3 separate regions of the Homo sapiens genome follow, and regions 2 and 3 are each linked to region 1. Evidence: promoter capture Hi-C in human tissues and cell types (Jung and others, 2019). All regions are on one chromosome and are shown on one strand. The core of a region is centred on a gene start or on the middle of the fragment in contact, and the rest is flanking DNA. Distances in the headings are between cores, read along the strand shown. Region 1 holds the start of FGF2 (fibroblast growth factor 2). Region 2 overlaps IL21-AS1 (IL21 antisense RNA 1). Region 3 overlaps IL21-AS1 (IL21 antisense RNA 1).

Region 1 (4,730 bases), core at 916-3,415:
GTTCAGGACATGCTACCCAAAAATAATGGTACCTTGGCACTTAAGAAAAGAGCAGAAGCAAGAGGGTTACTTTCACTTTCCCCAGATCTTCTCTTCTGAGGCAGACCATAAGACCTTCATTCCAGAGGTGCCTTCCCTATACCTGGAGGAAACAGACATCCTTATCTCTGAAGACACACGGACAGGGAAAAGAATCTGAGCAAATAGGCCTTGCTAAGTAAGTCCCCCCAGTTTATTACCATTAGATCACAGATTTGTCCAATCATACTTCTCCATGACTTCCACTTCTTTATCAATCCTAGCCTTAAAAATACACAGGCTTCCCTCTTAACTTTGGGTCTTAATTTCTGAAGTCTCCTGTTTTGTGTAAAACTCACATAAATAAGTTAGTATGTTTTTCTCTTGTTAATGTGTCTTTTGTTACAGGGGCTTCAGCCATAAACCTAGTAATGAATGGGGAAATTTTTTTTTTCCTCCTCTATAGAACATATACCAACTGCAAGAAGAAAGAAGAATATGCCTGGTTTTGGGCCTGGCGCGGTGGCTCACGCCTGTAATCCCAGTACTATGGGAGGCTGAGGCGGGCAGATCACCTGAGGTTGGGAGTTCGAGACCAGCCTGACCAACATGGAGAAACCCCGTCTCTACTAAAAATACAAAAAATTAGCCCTGCGTGGTGGTGGCGCATGCCTGTAATCCCAGCTATTCGGTAGGCTGAAGTAGGAGAATCGCTTGAACCCAGGAGGTGGAGGTTGCGGTGAGCCGAGATCGTGCCATTGATCTCCAGCCTGGGCAACAAGAGCAAAACTCTGTCTAAAAAAAATAAATAAATAATAAAAATAAAAACAGTATGCCTGGTTTTAAAGCTTCAAAGAATTTACTCATTCTCCTGTATGTAACATTCTAGAAATGCATCTGGAGTTAAAGCCTTCTTGGAGACTTAAGAACAAATGCACTTATGCATGGCCTTTTGAAACCTAATGTTTCTACAAGGAGGCACGTCCATACTTGCAACTCCTTCTAGAAGCTTCCCCAAATCTCCTGCCTCCCCACGCTGAGTTATCCGATGTCTGAAATGTCACAGCACTTAGTCTTACTCTTCTATGGCCTACTTTCTACTGCTATTTGTGTTACTCATGCTACCCATCTTATCTCCCTCAGTGTGTGAGACGCTGGCATCAGATTTGGCATCTCCCACACACTCAACATTATGTGTTGCACACAGTAGGTACTCAATACATGCAAGTTTTCTGAATAGATATTTTCCTAGTCATCTGTGGCACCTGCTATATCCTACTGAAAATTACCAAAATGCAATTAACTTCAATTTTACATTTGGGATTTACAGAAAATAACTCTCTCTCCAAGAAATGCATAACAATTTAGCTAGGGCAAATGCCAGGTCCGAGTTAAGACATTAATGCGCTTCGATCGCGATAAGGATTTATCCTTATCCCCATCCTCATCTTTCTGCGTCGTCTAATTCAAGATAGGTCAGTAAAGGAAACCTTTTCGTTTTAGCAACCCAATCTGCTCCCCTTCTCTGGCCTCTTTCTCTCCTTTTGTTGGTAGACGACTTCAGCCTCTGTCCTTTAATTTTAAAGTTTATGCCCCACTTGTACCCCTCGTCTTTTGGTGATTTAGAGATTTTCAAAGCCTGCTCTGACACAGACTCTTCCTTGGATTGCAACTTCTCTACTTTGGGGTGGAAACGGCTTCTCCGTTTTGAAACGCTAGCGGGGAAAAAATGGGGGAGAAAGTTGAGTTTAAACTTTTAAAAGTTGAGTCACGGCTGGTTGCGCAGCAAAAGCCCCGCAGTGTGGAGAAAGCCTAAACGTGGTTTGGGTGGTGCGGGGGTTGGGCGGGGGTGACTTTTGGGGGATAAGGGGCGGTGGAGCCCAGGGAATGCCAAAGCCCTGCCGCGGCCTCCGACGCGCGCCCCCCGCCCCTCGCCTCTCCCCCGCCCCCGACTGAGGCCGGGCTCCCCGCCGGACTGATGTCGCGCGCTTGCGTGTTGTGGCCGAACCGCCGAACTCAGAGGCCGGCCCCAGAAAACCCGAGCGAGTAGGGGGCGGCGCGCAGGAGGGAGGAGAACTGGGGGCGCGGGAGGCTGGTGGGTGTGGGGGGTGGAGATGTAGAAGATGTGACGCCGCGGCCCGGCGGGTGCCAGATTAGCGGACGCGGTGCCCGCGGTTGCAACGGGATCCCGGGCGCTGCAGCTTGGGAGGCGGCTCTCCCCAGGCGGCGTCCGCGGAGACACCCATCCGTGAACCCCAGGTCCCGGGCCGCCGGCTCGCCGCGCACCAGGGGCCGGCGGACAGAAGAGCGGCCGAGCGGCTCGAGGCTGGGGGACCGCGGGCGCGGCCGCGCGCTGCCGGGCGGGAGGCTGGGGGGCCGGGGCCGGGGCCGTGCCCCGGAGCGGGTCGGAGGCCGGGGCCGGGGCCGGGGGACGGCGGCTCCCCGCGCGGCTCCAGCGGCTCGGGGATCCCGGCCGGGCCCCGCAGGGACCATGGCAGCCGGGAGCATCACCACGCTGCCCGCCTTGCCCGAGGATGGCGGCAGCGGCGCCTTCCCGCCCGGCCACTTCAAGGACCCCAAGCGGCTGTACTGCAAAAACGGGGGCTTCTTCCTGCGCATCCACCCCGACGGCCGAGTTGACGGGGTCCGGGAGAAGAGCGACCCTCACAGTGAGTGCCGACCCGCTCTCTCCGCCTCATTTCCATTTCGTGGGTTCTCGCCCGCTCTCTCCCCTCCAGCCTGCACCCTCCTCCCGGATCTTCACTGCGACCCTAGCGCTCCGTGTGGTTTCTGGCCGCGCGGCCCTCGGCGGTTTCGGGTTCACCACTCACCCCCTCCTTTCCGGGCTGCGGCGTAGGCCCGGGTGTCCCCTGGGCTTTGGGGTGTGCCAATTTGCCCTGTAAACCAGTACCCCCGGCCCGGAGCCGCGGCGCGCCGGGGCCTCGCGGACTGGCTGTCTTCCCGCGGACAACCTGTCGCGTCGGGGATGCCCGCGGCCCCGCCATGCAGCTCTGGCCGCTTCTATCTGCTGCGTGCTGTCCCGGGGACAAAGACAGGAAGGACCGCAGCAGAACGAAACGGTCTTTACTGGAAAAACACCTTTCTAGAGTCCTGCCCTTAAATTCCGACTCGGGACGACCCGAGGCATATGGCACACTACTCTCACCCACTCTGTTTTATATTTTTCCGAATTGACGAAAGCTGAAAGAGCAAAAACAAAAACCAACCAGCCAACCAGCAAAAAATCCAGATGTTGTTAATAAAGTGCCATAGCTTTGTTTCAGTAGTGAAAAGAAGTGCAAACACTTTAATCTTCCACCTGCAGTGACTAGCTTTGAGACCTTGAGCCGACGCTTAACCCCAGAGCCGGTTTCCTCATCGCTCACGTGGGGCTAATATATTACTACCTTGCAGCAGGCTTGAGGATGAAATGAGAATTGCAGTTTTGCTTTCTGTAAGAAACAATGTTTGTGGTTCTAGAAAGAACACTGGCCTAAATAAGGAGTGCTTGGACTTTAGGGGATTCCCTAAGTCTGGAGTGGGGGCTGAAGATTTGCATTTCTAACATGTTCCCCGGGGATGCTGATCACATCACACTTTGAGAGCCACTGGTCTAGAGGAAAGAGAAAGAAAGGGGCATAAGATGAGCCGATTTACAACACTGATGGAATTTGAAGTGAGAGAAAGAGGACTAGAATATATTGTAACCTGTCCTCCTGTAAGTGTATGTAAACATGTGTTTTAAAAGCTGTGTGTTATGGCGTTCCTTCCTTTATGGGTTCCAGGTGGAGAATCTGATTCTCTCATTGCCTGAGAAAAGACCCACAGGGGTCCCAGCGCCACTCCCCTGTAGTTCTGCCTTTGTCTTGGGATGCTAATGGGATGTCATGAGGGGAGGTGGAGGGGGGCTGGAAGAGAAGAAAATTCTACAACCAAACGTGAATTGGCAGAAGAATGGGCAATACACTTTCATATGAGCTGAGTCTTTATTGCTTCCAAAATAGCAACCTGCAAGAGAGGCAAGTATTTAATTTTTTTCAGGCTTGCCATAATTTAAAAATTTTATCAATCACTTAATCCCGTAAAACTGAAAAGATGCTTGTAACCTATTAGATGGGTTAGTGCTAGTTCTCTATTCTGGTAACTTGAACTCATCTATTTCAAAAAATTATCTTTGTGATTGAAGTTTGTTCTGCAGTTGTCTGCTACGCCATCTCAGCTGACAAGGGCAAGGTGCTGTGTGTCCCAATTGGTTTTGTTCTTTCTAGTATCACAAATTATTTATTAAAAAGCATGTATTATGACCAGAAGACAGAAGAATTTCCCTTTAAATTAAATTAATATTTGGGGCTTCCCCTAATACTCTTTTTTTTTCAGACTCTATTAGTTGCTGAATCATTTTTTCTTTGAAGATTTTGATACCCGATTCGCCTTAGAATAAAACTATGTAGAGGTTAGCCAGTGGACATAATTTTGAATTGCATACCACATTACCACCGTTGTAAAAACAACCGTTAACTTTTTCTTCCTAACTGTGAGTTGGGTTTTCATTTTTGTAATCTTACTTTAACTCTGTGGTTCTCAAATGGGGACGATTTTGCCTCCCAGGGGACATTTGACAATGCCTGGAGACATTTTTGGTTGCTGTAACCTGGAAGGGTGCTACTGGCATCTGGCAGGTAGAGGCCGGGGATGCTGCTGAACATCCTACA
Region 2 (4,730 bases), core at 1,488-3,987, 190 kb before region 1:
TTTTATATCCATAAAAGAAGAGAGAAAGAAATGAATAAACTTCTGCCGTCATTTGGGTCTTGAATAGCATAGACAAAAATCAATCAGGAAATCAGTTATCTTGACAACAAGAAAGGGCAAAAGTATGACTTAGTTATTTACATTTACTTATTGTTCATTTTCTATGTTTTTCAAGCCTTTTCATTGTTATGAGAACATCGAAACACTCACCTTTTGCTCCATTTAGCTCTCAGAACTTTAAAATACACACCAAGGGGGATATCAGTGCAAAAGAAGAAGGAAAACCAGGAATACAAAAGAAACATGCTTGTAACAAGAATCAACTAAAAGTAAATTTTCATGAAATTAAGAGATAGGTGGTTCAATGATTTTGGATATTGGCAGTTAAGTCATCACAGGTCAGATTAACGTATTTAGTCAAAGCTGTTCTGTCATCAAGATCTGCATCAATCAGAAGCTTTAATGACATGACAGGGATGAGGGACTCTCTGGCCCTTGACTTGACTTATCCAGCTCTCAGAACCACTGCTCTGGTCATTGCTACTGTCTTCAGAGAATTATTTTTAATGGCGCTGGTGTTCAGGTCAGCATTTAGAAATGTTTACATTTAGGTTATTAGAAACCTAATAGAGGCTGGGGAAGGTCAACAGTAATCGTTAAGAATGATGACTGCTAGCAGCCACCACCCAAGGGAGCCACAGACATGGCAAAGCTCTGCTTGTCTGCCTCCCTCTCCCTTCGTCTCCCTCCTGCTTCCTCTCTGGGTCTCTCTATTCCTCCTTCCTCTTTTGTTGCTCATTCCTCCCAGATTTCTTCTCCTCTTTACTTCACTTTTTTCTTCCACTTTGTTTCATATTCAAATCTGCATACCATGAAACTAAAACGTATTTTAATTGTAATTGTTTTATTAAATAAACCTTTCTAGCCTCTAAATAGTTGTTTAAAATAAAACAAATTGAATACTATAATCTCTCTAAGGACTAGAAAGAGGCTCTTTTAAATGACTTTTGGTATTTGAGCTTTGGGGTTTTTTTTTTCCTTCCTTGAATCAATGATCCTGTGCAGAAAAACAAATAACACTGTTTGACTTCTTCTAATTTACGGAAATATAAGTGAAGGAAAACTGTTATAAAGAGACAATATCTGCTTAGTATGTAGGAGAAAGATGATTTGGGAATATCCTGCTTACTTTCTGAATCCCTAAAGAGTAATTTTATTTTAGAAAACATTCTCTTACATGTTGTCAATTGTTCTCTGTGTCAAAGCTCTCTGAGTTGCCACAACCATGGGCTTCTGTGGAAACTGCCTTCAGTTAGCTCCTATTGTACACTGCACATAACTCATACCAAGCCTGAGTTATTCACATATACACAAATCCAGCAGGCACCATCAGAGAAGAAACACTTTACACAATTTGTGTGGGATACTGAATAGAGTAATTCTGTTTTCATTTATCTGCTAAGCTATATGTGAAGAATCCAGGAAAAGAAAGTTATGTTTCCCATAAGCTCATAATGGATACACAAAAATAGTTAAATTGGGCCAGGTGTGGTGGCTCACGCCTGTAATCCCAGCACTTTGGGAGGCTGAGGTGGGTGGATCACCTGAGGTCGGGAATTCAAGACCAGCCTGACCAACATGGAGAAACCCCGTCTCTACTAAAAATACAAAAAGTTAGCCGGGTGCGGTGGCGCATGCCTGTAATCCCAGCTACTCAGGAGGCTGAGGCAGGAGAATTGCTTAAACCCGGAAGGTGGAGGTTGTGGTGAGCCAAGATTGTGCCTTTGTACTCCAGGCTGGGTGACAAGAGCAAAACTCTGTCTCAAAAAAAAAAAAAAAAAAAAGTTAAATTGAATCTGTTATTGGGTGGAGGCTTTCTGAGATGGAGCTCAAGGAGGGTTTCAAGAAGAAGACATTAGAATAAAAAGTCCTTGAGAGCAGAAAGCTTTATATGGAATAAAAGTTCAACACCCTTCATGTTGTGTCTTCTGCGAGCATTACACTAAATCTGGGAAGGGTCATCAGGTGATCTGACTGAGATGAAAATATGGTCTCAGTTATGTTAGACAGATTGGAAGGAGTTTGGAGACCAAAGTGGAGGAAAGCAAGAAAAGTATAATAGAAAGTGTCTGTGCAATGCACATATTAAGTACTAAATGATTCAGCCCAATAAGGTGAAATATGACAAAGTTTGGAGTAATTAACAAACACCTGTAGGCGTGTTGGGAGACTCATGATCTTACTATGACAACAAGGTGAGATGACTGCCCTGAAAGGACTCTTGGTGGGGTTTCCCTGCAGGTAAAGGGGAGGAAAGATGATAGGCAGAGCTTGGTGCTCCTCCAGCCCTGCTTCAACCAGAACAAATCCTTTTATCTGTTTTACACTTCGGGTCCTATGTAAGATTTCATTTGGAAAAATATGTTTACCTGGTAGGAAAAAAGAAATTAAAGGTGACTAATCTAGCCCCCTATTTACAGAGGCCCAGAACAGTGGCATGACCTGCCCAGGAAAACTCAACAAGGATGTACTCCAGGTGTTCTTCCTCAGATGAAGAATCCATATCATGGCCCACAGGAGGCTTGACAAGCCCACTTTTACCCTGTTGCCCATGGGTCGCTAATAGATAATCTCAGTTGGCATCTGTTGGACACATCCTATTGTGCCAGGCACTATTCTTAATTTCGTACTTAGATATTTTTTAGCTATTACTATATGTCATCTATTCGTGGACATTATATTCATAAATTAATATTTCTGAAACCAGCTGCCTCTCACAATCAATGGCAATGTAGATTCAATGAAGTACCATAAACCTAAGCCTCACATTTGTGAGGTAGCTACTATTGTCATCCACTTTAGAGATGAGAAACTGGAGACACAGAGGGATGAGGAAACCTGCCCAAGGTCACACTTAATAAATGGTGATGGGATAGCTACTGCTAAGACACGAATATTGCTACTGGCACGGTGATACAGCGGCCTAGGATGATTTCTGTTAGTGTTAGGAATGGACGTGATTAATACGGGAACTGTGGTGAGGGTGGCAGAAAATCCCTGGCATTGTATAAAATGAAGAGCACCTTGTTGGCAATGGGAAGCCTAAGACTCACATATCTGTATGTTTTCTATAAACTCTGCTCACTCTAACTCCTTTATTCACAGGAAAAACTATCAGTCTTTAATGAAAAAGTAAGAAACTTTGACTTTAAATGATATATGTAAGTCCATTAAAACTTTCTTGCAAATAGCAGGGATTAACTCATTAAATGTTAGTTCCCTGCCTTTTTTCAGAAATTGAGGAAAAGCTTTCTTGTGGATCACACTTTTTTAAAAAGTGTGATAGTAGTGGCTGCTATCGCTGATGATAGAAAGTAAGCTTTGGGGAATGTGGTGGTTAGAACTTTGACAATCCCAGCCGATTTCTAAATAGATTTATAACGTGAAATAATTTTCCTAGCTACACAAAAGATAAGAAAAGCATTTTTGGCAAGAGAAGAGTAGCTATAATTGTTTAAGCTCACTGGAATATCATGGTGGAGGGGAGCGGTGAAGGTAATTTAAATTAATTGCTAAGGTCAGGTGCAGAATGTCTTAATTGCAAGAAAGGTGAATAAGAACAAGACCAACAGGGGAGCTTAGTGTACTTCCGCTTTGTGTGTGTATGAGGTGGGGAAAATACATGGTTTCCCTGTCACTTAATGAGAGCAAATAGGCAAATGACGTGTATTTAGCATACTTCACCTAAGAGGTCTGCGGCTTAGGAACATGCTGAGTCAATTTGTTACTTGAGAATTTACATAACTTTGGTAATGGACTTCCCCAAAAATGGAATTCTAAGCAACCTCATATCCCTAGCTGGGGAGGGCTGAGATTTCCTTTTTCCTCTATCTTGGACAGTCCAAATTATGAGGTGGATACAAACCAGACCTCATTCTCTCCACCCACATTTTCCTTTACCTAACAACAAAAAAGGTTTTTCCTACAAGCTTAGTCACTGGCAGATTAAATAGCATTCTGAAAATTAGGAGGTAAGGTGACAGAATTGCTTTCAAGGAATTTTTTAAACTCTAAGTTGAGGATTCTTAAATTCATTATTCAGCATTTACCATAAAAATGTGCCAATCTGAAAGATAAAATGACTTGCCATTAAAACAATAAATAGGAAGCATTACATCATCAGAAAACATTTATTGAGCATATGTGTGTTTGGTATTTCTCTAGATGCTATCAGGTCACTACTCTGTGAAGACACGAGCCAAACCATAATTACACACATGCTTGAGAAAACGAAAGCATGCTGGCCTTTATGTGTGAAGATGACAGAAATCATGATGAGACCAATATGCATTTGAGATGATTTTTCAGTTACATGGAGTTTTCCTTCCATAATTTCTGTAGGCCATTTACTGCTGGTGACCCATGTGAATGTCATGATTTTTATACGATGAGCAAGAGGTAAAAGGGTAGCCTTTGCTCATAAAATGATTTTTGTCTTTGAGATCTCCATAGTAATTAAAACCATGAGCAAATACTTAGCGTCATACTATGACTGAAGCTTCAGTAAAAATAACCTAGACTTATATGAATTTGGAGAAAGGCTTATAAAACACATATTAGTGTAAAACACTAGGAAGATAACGGAAGTCATGACATTAGTTACTTTTTTGTTATTTTATTTTATTTTAATTACACTTTAAGTTCTGGGGTAAATGTGCAGAACGTGCAGG
Region 3 (4,730 bases), core at 1,074-3,573, 170 kb before region 1:
ATAGAAACATAAGCAGCACTCTAATGCAGTTGGGCACTTTTATTTGTATACTATGTAATACTATTTCTAGTCTTCCAAGTTTTTAGCATGACACATATAAAACTAAGAGGCAATATGATGAGGTGAAAATAGCCTGGTCTTGGAGATGCAGCTTCTAATCCTGTGATCTTGGACAAATCACTCAATCTGAAACCCAGTTTCCTCATCTGGAGAATGGCAGGGTATCTGTGTAGTCTCCTCCTAACCCCAACTCCCCAGCTCTAAAGCTTTTTGCGTAGAAGTAATGCAAAATCAAGACAAACAAACATTCAGTGATTCTCAGAATAGGCAAGTCACAGAACATGAGTCTTGGATGGGCTTAGATGGGAAATATTTCTAAAGGAGAAAGAGCTTTAAGCCAGTTCTTGGAAGAAATGATGGTCCTGAATAGTGGGAATGAGGTATGGAATGTTATGCAGGGAAGGTAGGAGAGGCCTGTACACAAGAAAAATGTCGGGAGTGGCCGGGCGTGGTGGCTCACGCCTGTAATCCCAGCACTTTGGGAGGCCAAGGTGGGCAGATTACTTGAGGCTAGGAGTTCATGACCAGCCTTGCCAACATGGTGAAACCCTGTCTCTACTAAAAATATTTAAAAAGTTAGTCGGGTGTGGTGGCAGGTGCCTGTAATCCCAGCTACTCGGGAGGCTGAGAGAGGAGTATCACTTGAACCTGGGAGGCGGAGGTTGCAGTGAGCCGAGATCGTGCCACTGCACTCCAGCCTGGATAACAGAGCGAGACTCCATCCCCTCACCAAAAAAAAAAGAAAGAAAAAAGAAAAATATAGAGGAGGGAGCATAGTAAGGAGAAAAGCCTGGCTGAAAAAGGGAGTGTGTTGGGGTGGGGATGAAGAGTGAATTGAAGATGTTTGCTAGGTAGAGGGAAAGAAAAAGTTAACGATAGATTGCCAGGCTTAAGAGGTCATATTTAATCCAGAAAAGTCCCATTTGGAAACCAATTATGGGTTTTAGATGGGCAACTGACATCATGAAAATCTACTAGTCATTATGAAAAGAAATCTGATTAGATCATAGCACTTGATATAGAGTGGCTTTCCTTAAATTGCTGAACTTGTAAAATCTAAATGTTCCATTAAAAAATCTTCCAAATATGTTAGTTATCTGAATTCTCTATTCATTCCAAGGAAAAAGAAAGAGGTTCACATGGTAATGAAGAAAAAATGAAGGTATACGAAGAATCAATTTGTTGAAAGAGCGCCCAATTTCTCTTCTGTCTTTTATTTGATTCTTTTTAATTAAGAATAAATATGTAGGTAAGACATGAGTCAGAGCAAACTCAGAAAGTACCTAGAAGCTTTCAGTATTTGAGGCATGCTAGCTAGTTTCATGTGGGTGAAGTTTGGTTTTCAGGAAGACAAATTGAAAACAGAACTTGTTTGTTTAGATTTTGCCATTCTCTAGGTGACTTACAAGGATGTTCAATGAATTATAAGAAGAAAGAATTTCTTCTTGGCAACTGCTATAAAGAGCCTTGTTTGGAGAGAATATGGTCCCAGAGCAGACCTTGAGCACATGACAGTTGTTCTTGGGACCAGGTCTGGGGAGACCACGTCTTAGCTGAAATAAACACAAGCAGAAGTTCAGTCCAGTCCTCAAACCAGGTTTTCAATAAATGTCTGTGTCACCCCTTTAAGAAACAGGAGAGCTGTGAAACACTCCAGAGAAATGCTGTTAGATGATGTGCTTGACTCTCCTTCAACTCCAAGAAGCTCTTGGGAGGCGCCATTTTTTTTTTTTTTTTTTAGAAAAAGATTACATTTTAGAAGAAGAATAACTGTTATTTACTACATTATTAATTTACACAAATGAAATAGTCTACTATTAAATAACCACATGACTGTACAACGCACAAGTCTTTTCTGGGTTTCAGGTGTCAGTTTTCTTCTCTGTAAAATATGAGGATTAGATTTCAGGGCTTCTTCCTCATCTAAAATGATAAAATCCAACTCAAAGACCTTCTTCTTTCTGGTGAAGTAACATGAAGCTTGAAGTCACTTTATCACATTGTTCTACATCTCTATTACTCTTTTTTTTTTTTTTTTTTGACAGAGTCTCGCTCTGTTGCCCAGGCTGGAGTACAGTGGCACGATCTTGGCTCACTGCAAGCTCTGCCTTCTGGGTTCACACCATTCTCCTGCCTCAGCCTCCCAAGTAGCTGGGACTACAGGCGCCCGCCACCACACCTGGCTAATTTTTGTATTTTTAGTAGAGACAGGGTTTCACCACGTCAGCCAGGATGGTCTCAATCTCCTGACCTCGTGATCCGCCTGCCTTGGCCTCCCAGAGTGCTGGGATTAACTCAAGACACAGTAGTTGGCATTGACTCTCTGATGAAGTTCCAGATGGGAGAGTTAGTACATTTGTGTATATAGAGAGAGCAGAAGTTACAGGGATATGGATTTTGACTCCATTTAAGGAAGAACTCTGAAATACAAAGCTTTGGCGCAGTGAACCACCGTGCCCGGCCTCTATTACTCTTAATGTATAGGAAAACACTAGCAGACCATTGAGTAGGTACTGAGGGAAGAATCCTGCATTCAGCACAATAACACATCAGTGGGAGCCTCGAGCCTAAAGCTACTTCCCTCCCACCCCAAAGACAGCAAAGGACAGGAGCTGGTCTTCGTATCTTTATGCTTCTTAGAAACACCTGTGTTTTAATTGTGGCTCTACAATAGAGTGTTTGGACATGGGCACTTTCTAGTTTGGCAGTAGTTTATTTGCTATGTATCCTTATTCCTTATTCCAATTCAGTGTTTTTACATGGGTTCTACTTTTCTCTCAAGAAGGTGATTTTTTTCTAAAGCAGGACCATATCCTAAATAGAGCAATTTTATACGCAGTGTCCAGGACACAGTATTTGATTATAAAATGATAATGATGAGAGCTTAAAAAATTCAAACTATAGAGCTGGTAGAGATTTTAGAGCAGCACTGTCTAATATGGTAGCCACTAGCCACGTGTAGCTATTTAAATTAATTAGAATTAAATTAAATTAAAAAATCAGTTCCTCAGTCATACAAGTGCTCAATAAGCACAGGTAGTCAGTGACTACCATTTTGGACCTCACAGATACGGAACATTTCCATCACTGCAGAAAGTTATATAGTACAATGCTGCCTTAGCGATCAACGAGACACAAAATCATATTTGTAAAAGATGTCAGGGAACTTGGAATCCACTTAATACATTCTTATATCCAGGACATTTCAAATATTTTCAGTATCAAATAATATATCACCTTACAAAGTGGCCATTCCACCTTAGGAAAGCTTTGTATTTGAGAGTTCTTCCTTAAATGGAGTCAAAATCCATATCCCTGTAGCTTCTGCTCTCTCCATATACACAAGTATACTAACTCTCCCACTTGGAACTTCATCAGAGAGTCAATGCCAACTACTGTGTCTTGAGTTAATTCCTCTTTCCCAGTGAACCCGTGCCACAGATGAGGAGGCTGAGGCTGGAGTTAGCAGTCCTCCCTGGAGACTCCATGACAGAACTAAGACTGTTGATGTATTCCGGTCTAGCTGAACTGCTTTCAAGTCTAGAAACTAATTCATTAAAGAATGTGTGTGCATAAATTTGTAGAGTTTAAGTTCTTAGTCTTTTATCTTTTTTCCATTTTGTTGTTGCTGTTGTTGTTTTGTCATTGCTTTATTCTCTTTTTGCGCTGCATACTTCCTAAGAGACTGTAAGCTATTCCTTCCCCAGAAAAGCAAAGATTACTCAGGCTCTGCATGAGTGTTTCAGAATATAAAGCAATTGCCCTCATCCACACCCCAAATAACCCCAGATGCCAAGCATAGAAATCACCAAATGGCTTGCTTCAGTTTGACAGTTCAAAAGCAGTTTAAGGGTAAAAGAGGAAACCAGAAGCATTAAAGATCAATGATGTACTTCCACATGGTGTCTAGAAGAGAGGATGCCTTTGATAACGTATCATAAAGAAAGGGCATCTACCTCTCCAAAGTGGAGACTCTGCAGGTGAGATACTGTGTTAAGTGCCAATTGCAGCTTTGGATCTGTTCAACAAATGCACATTGAAGTGTGGAGTCTGTGCTGGGGCAACAAAGATGATTGAAACATTGTGTTTACCCTCTAGTCACTGGCAGGGAGGCCAAGTGGAGACAATAAACAGTCAATTACCACCATAGATGACTTCACTGGTCACTCCAATGGGTTTGTTTTCAAAGGAACCAGCAGGTCAGTCTTGGAAGTCAAACAGTTACAGGCTGTTGCTGTAACAGCAAAGCAACTCCTACGTGTCACTAGATAAGGGGAACTACAGATCAAGCTTCCTAGGGAAGAAGGTTCTCTGACCAAATCAGCCTGGGCCCAGAAAGTAAGTTGGCACTGTGTGAACAGCTAGCTATATGCTTTACCCACAAAAAAACTGGTACCCGATCCAGTATATTAACTTTGGCATATAATCAGAAATAATGCTACCATCTGTGCAGAACTATCTCTTCCTTTTACACAATCACCAGCCTCCACCAGCAACCATTCCCCTCAATATCCAGTACAGTGCTAGGTTCATGGTTGCACATACACACACACCACATAGATAGGATTTTATATAGAATTATTGTATATATATGTATATATACACACATATATAGGTATGATTTTGTTACATGTTTTATATGTTAATGATCATAATTTATACATAAATGT

Evidence for each region. Contacts are between HindIII fragments. The study calls those that stand out against the background at their distance.
Region 2: a fragment that was not itself captured here is called in contact with the fragment with the promoter of FGF2 in region 1 in 1 of the 25 tissues and cell types used here (H1 embryonic stem cells).
Region 3: a fragment that was not itself captured here is called in contact with the fragment with the promoter of FGF2 in region 1 in 1 of the 25 tissues and cell types used here (spleen).

The regions. Positions count from the first base shown.
Region 1 is chr4:122,824,666-122,829,395 of GRCh38, forward strand. FGF2 (fibroblast growth factor 2) reads left to right here and starts at 2,166. Exons shown (of 3, transcript NM_001361665.2): 1 at 2,166-2,687. The coding sequence starts at 2,510. RefSeq lists promoters at 1,025-2,207, 1,376-2,343, cis regulatory regions at 1,400-1,470, 1,471-1,509, silencers at 2,009-2,488, 2,829-3,123 and enhancers at 2,709-2,788, 3,071-3,596, 3,469-3,608, 3,597-4,122, 3,649-3,698. The HindIII fragment of the contact is 11,104 bases long and covers 12-4,730 here.
Region 2 is chr4:122,629,187-122,633,916 of GRCh38, forward strand. All of the region lies in intron 7 of IL21-AS1 (IL21 antisense RNA 1), which reads left to right. Among named protein-coding and RNA genes, the nearest start is that of IL21, 10 kb to the left of the region's middle. The HindIII fragment of the contact is 3,072 bases long and covers 1,202-4,273 here.
Region 3 is chr4:122,657,546-122,662,275 of GRCh38, forward strand. All of the region lies in intron 10 of IL21-AS1 (IL21 antisense RNA 1), which reads left to right. Among named protein-coding and RNA genes, the nearest start is that of IL21, 39 kb to the left of the region's middle. The HindIII fragment of the contact is 3,031 bases long and covers 809-3,839 here.